Linked DNA regions of Homo sapiens: region 1 is linked to region 2. The links are contacts of gene promoters, found by promoter capture Hi-C in blood cells and fetal thymus (Javierre and others, 2016). All regions are on one chromosome and are shown on one strand. The core of a region is centred on a gene start or on the middle of the fragment in contact, and the rest is flanking DNA. Distances in the headings are between cores, read along the strand shown. Region 1 has its middle 55 kb from the start of NALF2. Region 2 holds the start of AWAT2 (acyl-CoA wax alcohol acyltransferase 2).

Region 1 (4,996 bases), core at 836-3,335, 490 kb before region 2:
CATCTGACCCAACCTCTTTGTTTTATACTCAAGGAACCGGCATTCAGAGAAGGGAAGAAATTTGTCCAAGGTCACAGAGTTAGTGAACTACGTAGACAAACAGGCTTCAGAAAGAGGCCACATAGGTTACTAGAGAGAATAGTCTCAGGTGTTAGCCCAGATAGGGTCTGCAAATACTTGGCAAACATAATGCCGCTTCTCACTCCTCTGTCCCTGGTGGACATTGCACCCCAATTTCAGTGCTGACGCTACTTTGAAGTCCTTCTTAACTGAGTACACTAGGCATTGACATGGAAAATGAAAGCAATTTGTAATTTCAGGCCTACAATAACAGCTGTGTGTGTCACAGAAGGGTAGAACTAGTCCTAATGTCTAATTCGTTAGATACCATTATCGAAGGCTCTTTGGGTTGCAAGCAACTGAAGGAAGAGTTACCCTCAGGAAAGACAGGAACCAGGACTGCTTTGTAGATCTAAACAGTGGCAGTTGGTGGCCCCTCCTCATTAAAGCACTGCTACTCATGAGACCCAGCTTCAATGACTGGCTGCCACACTTTGTGTCTCCCGCTGCCGGTTTAAAATTCCTTGGAGAGTGAAGTTGTTTGGACCGAGTTGTAAGAGATTTTTAAACCCTGGAACAATAAGTGATGGAGCAGGGACAGGTCTACTGGATAGAAAATCAGCAGTGACTGCCATAGGGGTGGCACCTCCGCAGGAGGTGTCTACCAGATACGCTTCAGGAAAACCTAAGGGGACCAAGAGAAACAGGCTGGAGTGAAGGTGGGCTTTTCAGAGACCAGAGCCTAGAGGCATCTAAGAGGAGTTACGGAAACATCTGCTAGGCTACTTGAAGTGCAAGAAAGGCCACTTTTGGGGTAGATAAAGGAGTATATTCCTTACTCTGGGACCAGGAACCAGGGTAGTTCTCTCAGGGGACAGAAAAGATACTCAGGACAAGTATAGAGTTTCCCAGGGCAAGGAGGTAATCTGGCAATGTCCCCCATCTCCCTTCACCCCTCCCCACTGCAAAGCCAAATTAATAAAGCGGATTCTGGAAAGGACAGAGAATCCCACCAGCCCTAATGGTGGCACAAACCCAAACTTTCCAGGCAATGAGTCTGAATAGCATGGTCAAGCATCCAATTCAGACAGGGCTGAGGCCAAGAATAGGAATGGGGATTGAATGCCCTATAATCTGCCGGCCAAATCCATCAGTGGAAAGATCTGAGATCCATTAGGAAAATAAATGTCTTCTGTAAACTCATTTATTTCTAGGGTTTTGTAATTCTTAAAAAATTGTTGTGTTCCCCTCAACTTCTGAGAAAAGTTCTTTTCAAAAACTCCCAGCTTGTCGTAGATCAATTCAAGTGAAAGGCTTGGGCCATAGAAGGGTCAAGACAGCTGGGAAGGTTTCAAGCTCCCAACAGGGAGGAATGGAGATGGCTGCGATGGGCCCAGTTGAAGTCTTAGGTAGAGAAGATGGAGGCAAGTTACATAGAAAGGTGGCATTTCTGAGACATAAAGTTTCTTCCTTAGAAACTTTTCTTTTCTTTCTTAGAGGGTGGATGTAGATGACTATGGTCTGTACATAAGACACTATTTGGAGGCTTTGGGTCTGAAGGCAAGATGGAGTTGATGAAAATTCAGGTTGGGGCCTTTTTAAGGAAAGACTACTCCTAGAGGAGTTCAATTCTTTTTCTCTCTCTCACCTTTGCCTCTGTCTTTGACTGTATATGTGACACTGTGCAAGTTACCTAACCTCATAGAGCCCGAGTTTTCTCATTTTTAAGGTAGAAATACCAAGTAGAGGGTTAAATAAGGATTAAATGAGATAATATGCAAACTGTTTAACATTCTTGGCCCAGAGCAGCAGATGATCAAAGAGTCTATAAAGCTTACTTTTTTTCCTTGCTTCTGTGTGTGTGTGTATCTTTATACCACATACTGCAGTAGAGGCTGGATATTCAGAGATGAAATGATAAAATCTCTGCCCTCAAGTGTCTTGCAAGCTGGAAAAGAAGATAGTTAAATAAACATCAATTATAATAATGTCTCTAGTGAAGTGTATGTATAAACTTAGTGGAAATGTGGAGGAAGTAAGACAAGTCTACCCGAGGAAGTCAGAGAAGGCCGCACAGAGGAGGTAGCATTTGATCTGGACTTTACAGGATGAATAGAAACTTTCTCAGTGAACAAGCATGGGGAGAGTCCTTGAGGCCGAGGAAACAGCATGTGCAAGGCACAGAAGTATAAGAAAGCATACCAAATTCGATATTGCTGAAGCTTTATGTGTTACCGTATCAGGCAAAGAAGGTAAATTTCATCCCATCGTCTGGTGCATGTTACTGAAGAATTTTGAGCAGGAAAGTGACTTATCACAATAGCAATAACATTTAGAAAGGTTTGGAGGGATAGTAAGATTAGAGGTTAGATGGAACACTATTATTTCGGGCAAAACGGGACCTTAATTGGAGCAGTGGCAAATGGGCATGAAGAGGAGTAGGTGGATTGGAGAATTATTTTTTATTTTTATTTTTTTGAAATGGAGTTTCGCTCTTGTTGCCCAGGCTGGAGTGCAATGGCGCGATTTCAGCTCACCACAACCTCTGCCTCCTGGGTTCAAGTGATTCTCCTGCCTCAGCCTCCCAAGTAGCTAAGATTACAGGCACGTGCCACCACGTTCGGCTAAATTTGTATTTTTAGTAGAGACGGGGTTTCTCTGTGTTGGTCAGGCTGGTCTCGAACTTCCAACCTCAGGTGATCTGCCCTCCTCGGTCTCCCAAAATGCTGGGATTACAGGCGTGAGCCACCGCCCCCGGCCCTGGAGAATTATTAGGAAGACAGAACCTTTAGAGTTTTTAGTAATGAATTGGATGTGGAGAATGAGGAAGGGGCAAGAATCTAGTATCTGTCTGGCCTTTGGGCAACTGGCTACACTACTGTAACATATGCTGGGATAGACAACATGGGAGGAGGAGGGAACAGAGTATGGGGCAGGGAGGAGATGATACTTTCCATTTTGCAATGTTAGGTTGAAGAGTCTGTGGGACGCCCAGGTGGAGATGTTCATAGGCAGCTCAGAGGGGAATCTGAGCTAGAAGTGGAAATTTGGAAAATATCAATGGTAGTTAAAAAGAAAAAAGAAATAGCAACATTTAAAAAGCTGGGCAGAGGCACTTTGAAAGACAGCCTGGCAGTTCTTCTGAAGGTTAAACATAGAGTTACCATTTGACCCAGCAATTCTGCTCCCTAATATATATATATATATACTCAAGAGAAATGAAAACACACATGCACACAAAAATTTGTACCAAAGTGCTCCTAGCAGCACTATTTACAATTGCCAAAAGGTGGAAACAACTCACATGTCCATCAATGGATGAATGGACAAACAAATGCTGGCATATCCATACAATGGAATATCATTGAACCTTAAAAAGAAATGAAGTACTGGCACATGCTACAGTATGGATAAACTTTGAAACATTATGCTAAGCAAAAGAAGCCAGATGCAAAAGACATATACTGTGTAACCTTATTTTTATGAAATGTTCAGAATAGGCAAATTCGGAGGACAGAAAGTAGATTAGTGTGTTGTTTAGGACTAGTTTCGGGGGTGATGGCTAAGGAGTATGGGGCTTCTTTTAAGGGTAATGAAAATGTTCTGGAATGAGTGGTAAAGGTTGCATAACTCTGAATATATACTAAAAACAACCTAATTGTGCACTTCACAGATGTGAGTTGCGTGGTATGTGAATTGCATCTCAATAAAGCTGTTACTAAAATTCAGGAAAAAAAGATGGGCAGAAAAAGAAAGGCCTTTGGGGGAAATGTCCTAAAGATAGGATAGTCAACAGCAAGTACTGGGGCAGATACACAGGAATAAGAGCAGGTCAAGAGAGTGTTCCAAAACAAGGGTCACATGCCAGGGACAAGCCATGTAAGATCGGGACTTCATTTCTTCTTTCCACCTCTTTTTTCTCCTGCCTGGATAAAAAGACATCTCAGCTGTGGTCCTGAGAAGACAGGAGAGGCTAGAACCTCTCATACTGAGGCCCGAGGACCTGTACTTATGCAAAAGCTTCAGAATAGATGAACAAAACAGAAGCTAGAGGCAGAAGATAGAGGCAGAGACCAAATGAGAGGAAAGGACAAGATCCTTCCTACTGAGAAATCTTAGGATAATCATCTAGTCTTTTCCAAGTGACCAGTTTTATCCTGGAAGAAATAAATTTTGTCAACTGCTGGTCCCACAAAACTAGACACCAGTGGGGCATCACATGATGAAGTAGAATGGCCCTTGAATAAATACCCATTATTTTGGCAAAGTTGTCGCCAAAGAGCACTGAGTATGTTGTTTTCTATGCAGGACCCTAAATAAAGCGTTTTAACCATGCCCCCCCAAAAAGGCAAAGGGGCTTACAATCTAAATTCATATAGCACATATGGATATTAGACCATGAGTTCCATCTGTGTAAAGACTTCATATCATTTACATCTGTATGTCCAGCATTCCGCAGGGAACCTGCATAATACAGCTGCACAGTGAGGGTTCCTTACCTTACCAGTCACTGAATTAATAAATGAATGAAGCAAATGGACATGTAATAAAAAACCAGCAGCACACTTAAAGGTTGGAATATAGGAGAAATTAAATTCCTGTGTAGAGGGGTAAGGAAGTGAGGGAAAATATTAAAAGTTCCCGGGTTAGTTGAGTGGAGCCTAGTTTGAGTTGCCAGTTCAGACCAGCCAGGAAAAATACCTGAGTAGAGCTGACCTAGTCTGAGATGGTAGGCTGTGATGGACCTGGGGGAAACAGAGAGGCAGGCCTAGTCCACAAGCTTCCAGTTCCAACGTTTGAAAACACTGTGCCCAACCAATGAACCTGTAGGCCCAATTTGGCCTAAAGGCCATACTTCGCAACCTGTGAGAAGGCTTATTAAGAGGAGGTAGCAGTCAGAGATATTTGAATTAAGGAAGAAAGAAAGCTTATGAGT
Region 2 (4,902 bases), core at 1,623-4,122:
TATAATCTTGGTGACTAAATAGCTCAATTATGAATCATATTTTCTAGTCATAGGCATTTAACCAAAACCTGTGCTATAACAATTTTGGGAGGATGGGGGAAGAGGAAGTTCTAGTGATAGTGTGCACAGCCAAATTCTCATCTTCCATATTAGGAAGTCAATAGACAATGTCTAAAATTGTTACATCAGCAAATAATAAGATTTAGAAATATGGAAGTAAATTCCAGAAGAAAGAACCAACAAAGTTGAAAAGCACTGCCTTGGGAAAGAGAATTAAGGGTAGAGCAAAGGCCAGCAGTTCTAGGGTTTTGATAAGTGCCATATGACACTACTGACTTCTTTGAGAAGTAAAGAGAGGCATTGGGTCTGATCCAGAGGACACCTCCCAGTTTCCTTTAGGCTCTGCTCAAACCTAGGCAGTGCTGGGGACATCTTGTAAGCGTGGCCTCAGGTGGGGTGCCCTGTGATGTGATGAATCTTGGATCTGCCACTTACTGTGTGTGACCAAAGACGTTGCTGAACCTCAGTTCCTCATCTGCAAGATGGGAACTAAAATACCAATATCTGCACTATTTCCCTCACTTATTGGGAGGGCCTTCTCTCAAGGCCTTTAGGGTCCGGATGGATTCAATTGCACTCCTAGAGTGAAGAGCTGAGAGGCCTCCGAAGGGCCATTGCCCCACTTGCCCTATGTGAACTAGTGAGGAAGGGGCAAACGCCTGCAGCCCATATCTGCTGCCAGGACCGAGAGCTCTTCTGCCTGCCCTCTCTGTACCTCTTAGTATACCCCGAAGTCAAACTCCAGTTAAGAGTCCTCTGAGTCCATTTTGTCCCTGGACTCATCCCCTTTCAGCCACTCTCCTCCTTAACCCTTCTCTGCCCCACCTGCCCCCCTGCCAGCTCACACTGGGACCTGATCCCTCAGTCTTGCTTCCTCCATTTCTCCCGTGCCCCCACCCCCCATCTTCAAGTCCTATTCATTCTACTCCAATTTCTTGAATCTCCCCTCTTCTTTCCTCTTCTCTGCATCACCATCACTACCGGCCTGGTCCAAATTACCGCCATCTGGATTATTGCAACAGCCTCCTACCTGGCATTGCCCCTTCCACTTCTATCTTCCTATAATCAGTTGACTTCACAGAGCTAGAGTAATCTCTGATGCCATCACCCTGTGTCAGTCTCCCTCATGGCTCCACATGGCTCTCAAAAAAAGTCCAAACTCCTTCCCATGGTTTACAAAGCCCTACACAATCTGTCCCCTGCCTGTTTCTCCAGTCTCTTCCTTCTTCCCTCTCTTGTTTGTTCATTCATTCATTCAATAAATATATATCGAGCACCAATTCTGTGCTTCTCACCCTCCACCTCACTTAACCACTGGCAGCTCCTTGAATGCATTATGTGCCCTTTGCCATCCTAGCTTTTCCATGTGTTGCCCACTCTCTGCCCCAAATGCTCTTCCTTTCTTCACCTATTTCCTATTTGTCCTTCAAGAGTCAACTCAAATTCAAGAGAAAAATGGGCAGAGGTCATAAATGGGCAGTTAACAGAAAAAGAAATACTAATTGCTGATAAACATGAAAAGATGCTCAAACTCATCAGTAATTAAGGACGTTCAAAATGAGGCGACAGCTCATGGTTTCTTGCCTATCACTTCTGGGTGGAGGTAGTAAGGACTGTGAATGAGTTCTCCATTCACTTTCCCTCCCATGCTGTGGTAATCCCTCAAGCCCCATTTTGCAGCGACACAATTTGGTGGTGCCTCCGTCAGCCTGAATATCAATGTCCACAGTGAGCGGTGACTCCCACCAACCTATGTTGGACATTCAGCATGAACAAGAAATAAACATTTGCTGGGTTAAGCCACTGAGATTTCAGGGTGAATTTATCAGCACGGCATACCTAGACCATCCTGATTAATACACCCTGAATGCTCCCACTTTGCAAATGAGGAAAACAAGACTCAGAAAGGATAAATACCTTGCTAAGAATTACACAGATAGTAAGTAGTAGAACTGGAATTTGAAAACAGGTGAGGTGAGGTAAGGAATGCCCACCCTTCCTATTCACTGGCGTGCCTCTGTGCCAGCTCTGTGCACCAAGGCCTATCTGCATTCTTTATTCCTAGATAGCTTGCAAGGTCACTTAATTCATTTCCCTGACTCCAGCCAGTACTCACCTGAACCACTGGAAAGGCAAGAATGTTTTCCAGGACCCCTTCCCACAGTGATGATTTGTTTCAGCATTTAGAACACAGTGGCCAGCATAGAAATAACTTTCACAAAGTGTTTGTAGTGTAAGCGTTGGAAGACATGGATGGATAAATTGTCGAATTCCTCAGGATGAGGTTTCCAGAGCCTCGGTCTGCCACCTGACCCAACTATCTCTAATTGGTGGTTTGCTTGAGTCCCTGTGATTGCAGCCAAGCCCTTTTCCTTGGCTAGCCTCAGTGGAACTGCTCCTCATCTTCCCAAAGAATGCCCTCTACACCCCAATGTAGACCGAGAAGGGCTCACACCTGCAGCAAAGTCCATGTGCATAGACGTGCATATACACACCCCTGCATAGGCACACACCCATATGCACACACACATGCCCACAGGGACACTCACAGATCCCACAAATACCATGGCCAGGTGGGTCAGGCCAGAGGCTGGTGTTACCAACCTTCCTGGTTTTACTGGAACAACCCTAGTTTGACCATTGAACATCCTGCAACCCTAAAATCCTTCAGTCTCAGGCAAGCCAGGATGGTTGGTCACCCTACCAAAGGCTGAAGACTCACTGATAAGCAAGGCACTGAAGGACCACTGGAAAACAGCAAAGACATCCAGGGCAGTCTTGAGGTCCTTCTTAGAGGGCAAGAGCATTGTGCCCAGCGTCCCAGTGGCTCCAGGTAAGCACTGTTCAGCTGCCCAGCCCTGATTGCTCAGGAGTCTGTGATGTTTCCTCTCTTAATGTTTTCTTCCCCAGCCTCTGGCTAGCCTCCGCCCCTGTACCACCCCTCCACAGAATTACAGGACCATATAATGCCTCTGCTTATCCAGTTCCTTCCAGCTGCCCACTCACCTGTACTTTTACCCACTTGGGTATTGCCTGGACTGAGATTGTGACACTCCTTTGCGCACTTGGCTAGAGAAATGTGATGAAACCCTGGTGTGAAAGTTAGTGTGGGCGTGCAGCTGACAAGAGGCCTCCAGGGCCAGTCTGGATGGTGGAGAGTGATGGGCAGGAAGGAGCCCAGGGCTCAAATGGGACACAGGGCTTGCATTTCTGTTTCTGAGGCCCAACTGTCTATGGTCTCTCAGTGACAATGGGATTGGAGGGCAGAGGGAAGGAGGTCACAGGCAAGGCCTTAGAAATACCTTCAGCCTTTTAGTCAGTCTGGGAGAACTCATTACTCACATTGAAGAGACATCACATGTATGTCTGTGAGCTATCATAGGTACTGAATAAACCTATTATTGAATGAAGAAACAAATATTGGTGTATATTATTCTGTGTACATGAAATTTTAGAATAGGCAAAACCAATCTATAGTGAAACAAATCACAGCAGTGGTTACCTGTGCTTGGGGATTGACTAGGAAGGGGCATGATGGAAACCTTTAGGGGTAACAGTGACGTTCTCTGTCTTGATAGGACTGTGAGTTACACAGATCAAAACCTCATTACTCAGTGAGTATACACTTAAAATGTGTACGTTTCACTGCCTGTGGATTTTACCTCGAAAGTAAAAAAAAAAAGTTGAACTCTCATTAATTCTGAAGTGTTTAGGGGTGAAGAATACTAGGCTGGGCATGGTAGCTCACACCTGTAATCCCAGCACTTTGGGAGGCCAAGGCAGGAGGATCACTTGAGGCCAGGAATTAGAGATTACAGTGAGCTATGACCGTGCCACTGCACTCCAGCCTGGATGACAGAGTGAGACACTGTCTCTAAAAAAACAAAACAAAAAAGAGTGCTGATGTCTGCAATTTACTTTGAAATGCATGTAAAATATATTGATGGATGGATACAGGGATGTACTGATGGATAAATATGTAATAAATCAAACAAAGATTGATTTATTAAATCTAGTAAAATATATAAATATTTTATATTTTTAATATTTTAATATTTTTTATATTTTAATATATTTTTATATATTAATATTTATATATAATATATTAAATATATTTTTATATTTTAATATTTTATATTTTATATTTCTGTACAGATAACATAAAATATTATCTGTACAATCTAGGTGGTGGGTATTCACTGTACAATTCTTTCAACTACTCGGTAGGTTTGAATTTTTTTATAATAGAATTTTGAAAAAAGAGTTCCCTCAAGGTCATACTTTGGGAGGCCGAGGCAGGCAGATCACCTGAGGTCGGGAGTTCGAAACCAGCCTGACCAACATGGAGAAACCCCATCTCTACTGAAAAATACACAATTAGCCGGGCGTGGTGGCACATGCCTGTAATCCCAGCTACTCAGGAGGCTGAGGCAGGAGAATCGCTTGAACCCAGGAGATGGAAGCTGTGGTGAGCTGAGATCGCACCATTGCACTCCAGCCTAGGCAACGGGAGCAAAACTCTGTCTCAAAAAAAAAAAGTAGTGGCTCGCTCCTGTAATCCCAGCATTTTGGGAGGCCAAGGTGGGTGGATCACATGAGGCCAGGAATTCGAGACCAGCCTGGCCAATATGGCGACACCCCATCTCTACTAAAAATACAAAAAATTAGCCGGACATGGTGGCGTGTGCCTATAATCCCAACTACTCTGGAGGATGAGGCATGAGAATCACTTGAACCCGGGAGGCAGAGGTTGCAGTAAGCTGAGATCATGCCACTGCACTCCAGCCTGGGCAACAGAGCAAGACTCTGTCTCAAACAAACAAAAAAAGAAGAAATTTTACA

What was found. Contacts are between HindIII fragments. The CHiCAGO score rates a contact against its expected background, and 5 or more counts as called.
Region 1: a contact is called between a fragment that was not itself captured here and the fragment with the promoter of AWAT2 in region 2, in 1 of 17 cell types (naive B cells). The highest score is 5.8, in naive B cells.

Annotation. Positions count from the first base shown.
Region 1 is chrX:69,556,731-69,561,726 of GRCh38, forward strand. No RefSeq gene overlaps it. Among named protein-coding and RNA genes, the nearest start is that of NALF2, 55 kb to the left of the region's middle. The HindIII fragment of the contact is 389 bases long and covers 1,892-2,280 here.
Region 2 is chrX:70,047,066-70,051,967 of GRCh38, forward strand. It overlaps AWAT2 (acyl-CoA wax alcohol acyltransferase 2), which reads right to left and starts at 2,873. Exons shown (of 8, transcript NM_001002254.1): 1 at 2,783-2,873. The coding sequence starts at 2,867. The HindIII fragment of the contact is 8,371 bases long and covers 1-4,902 here.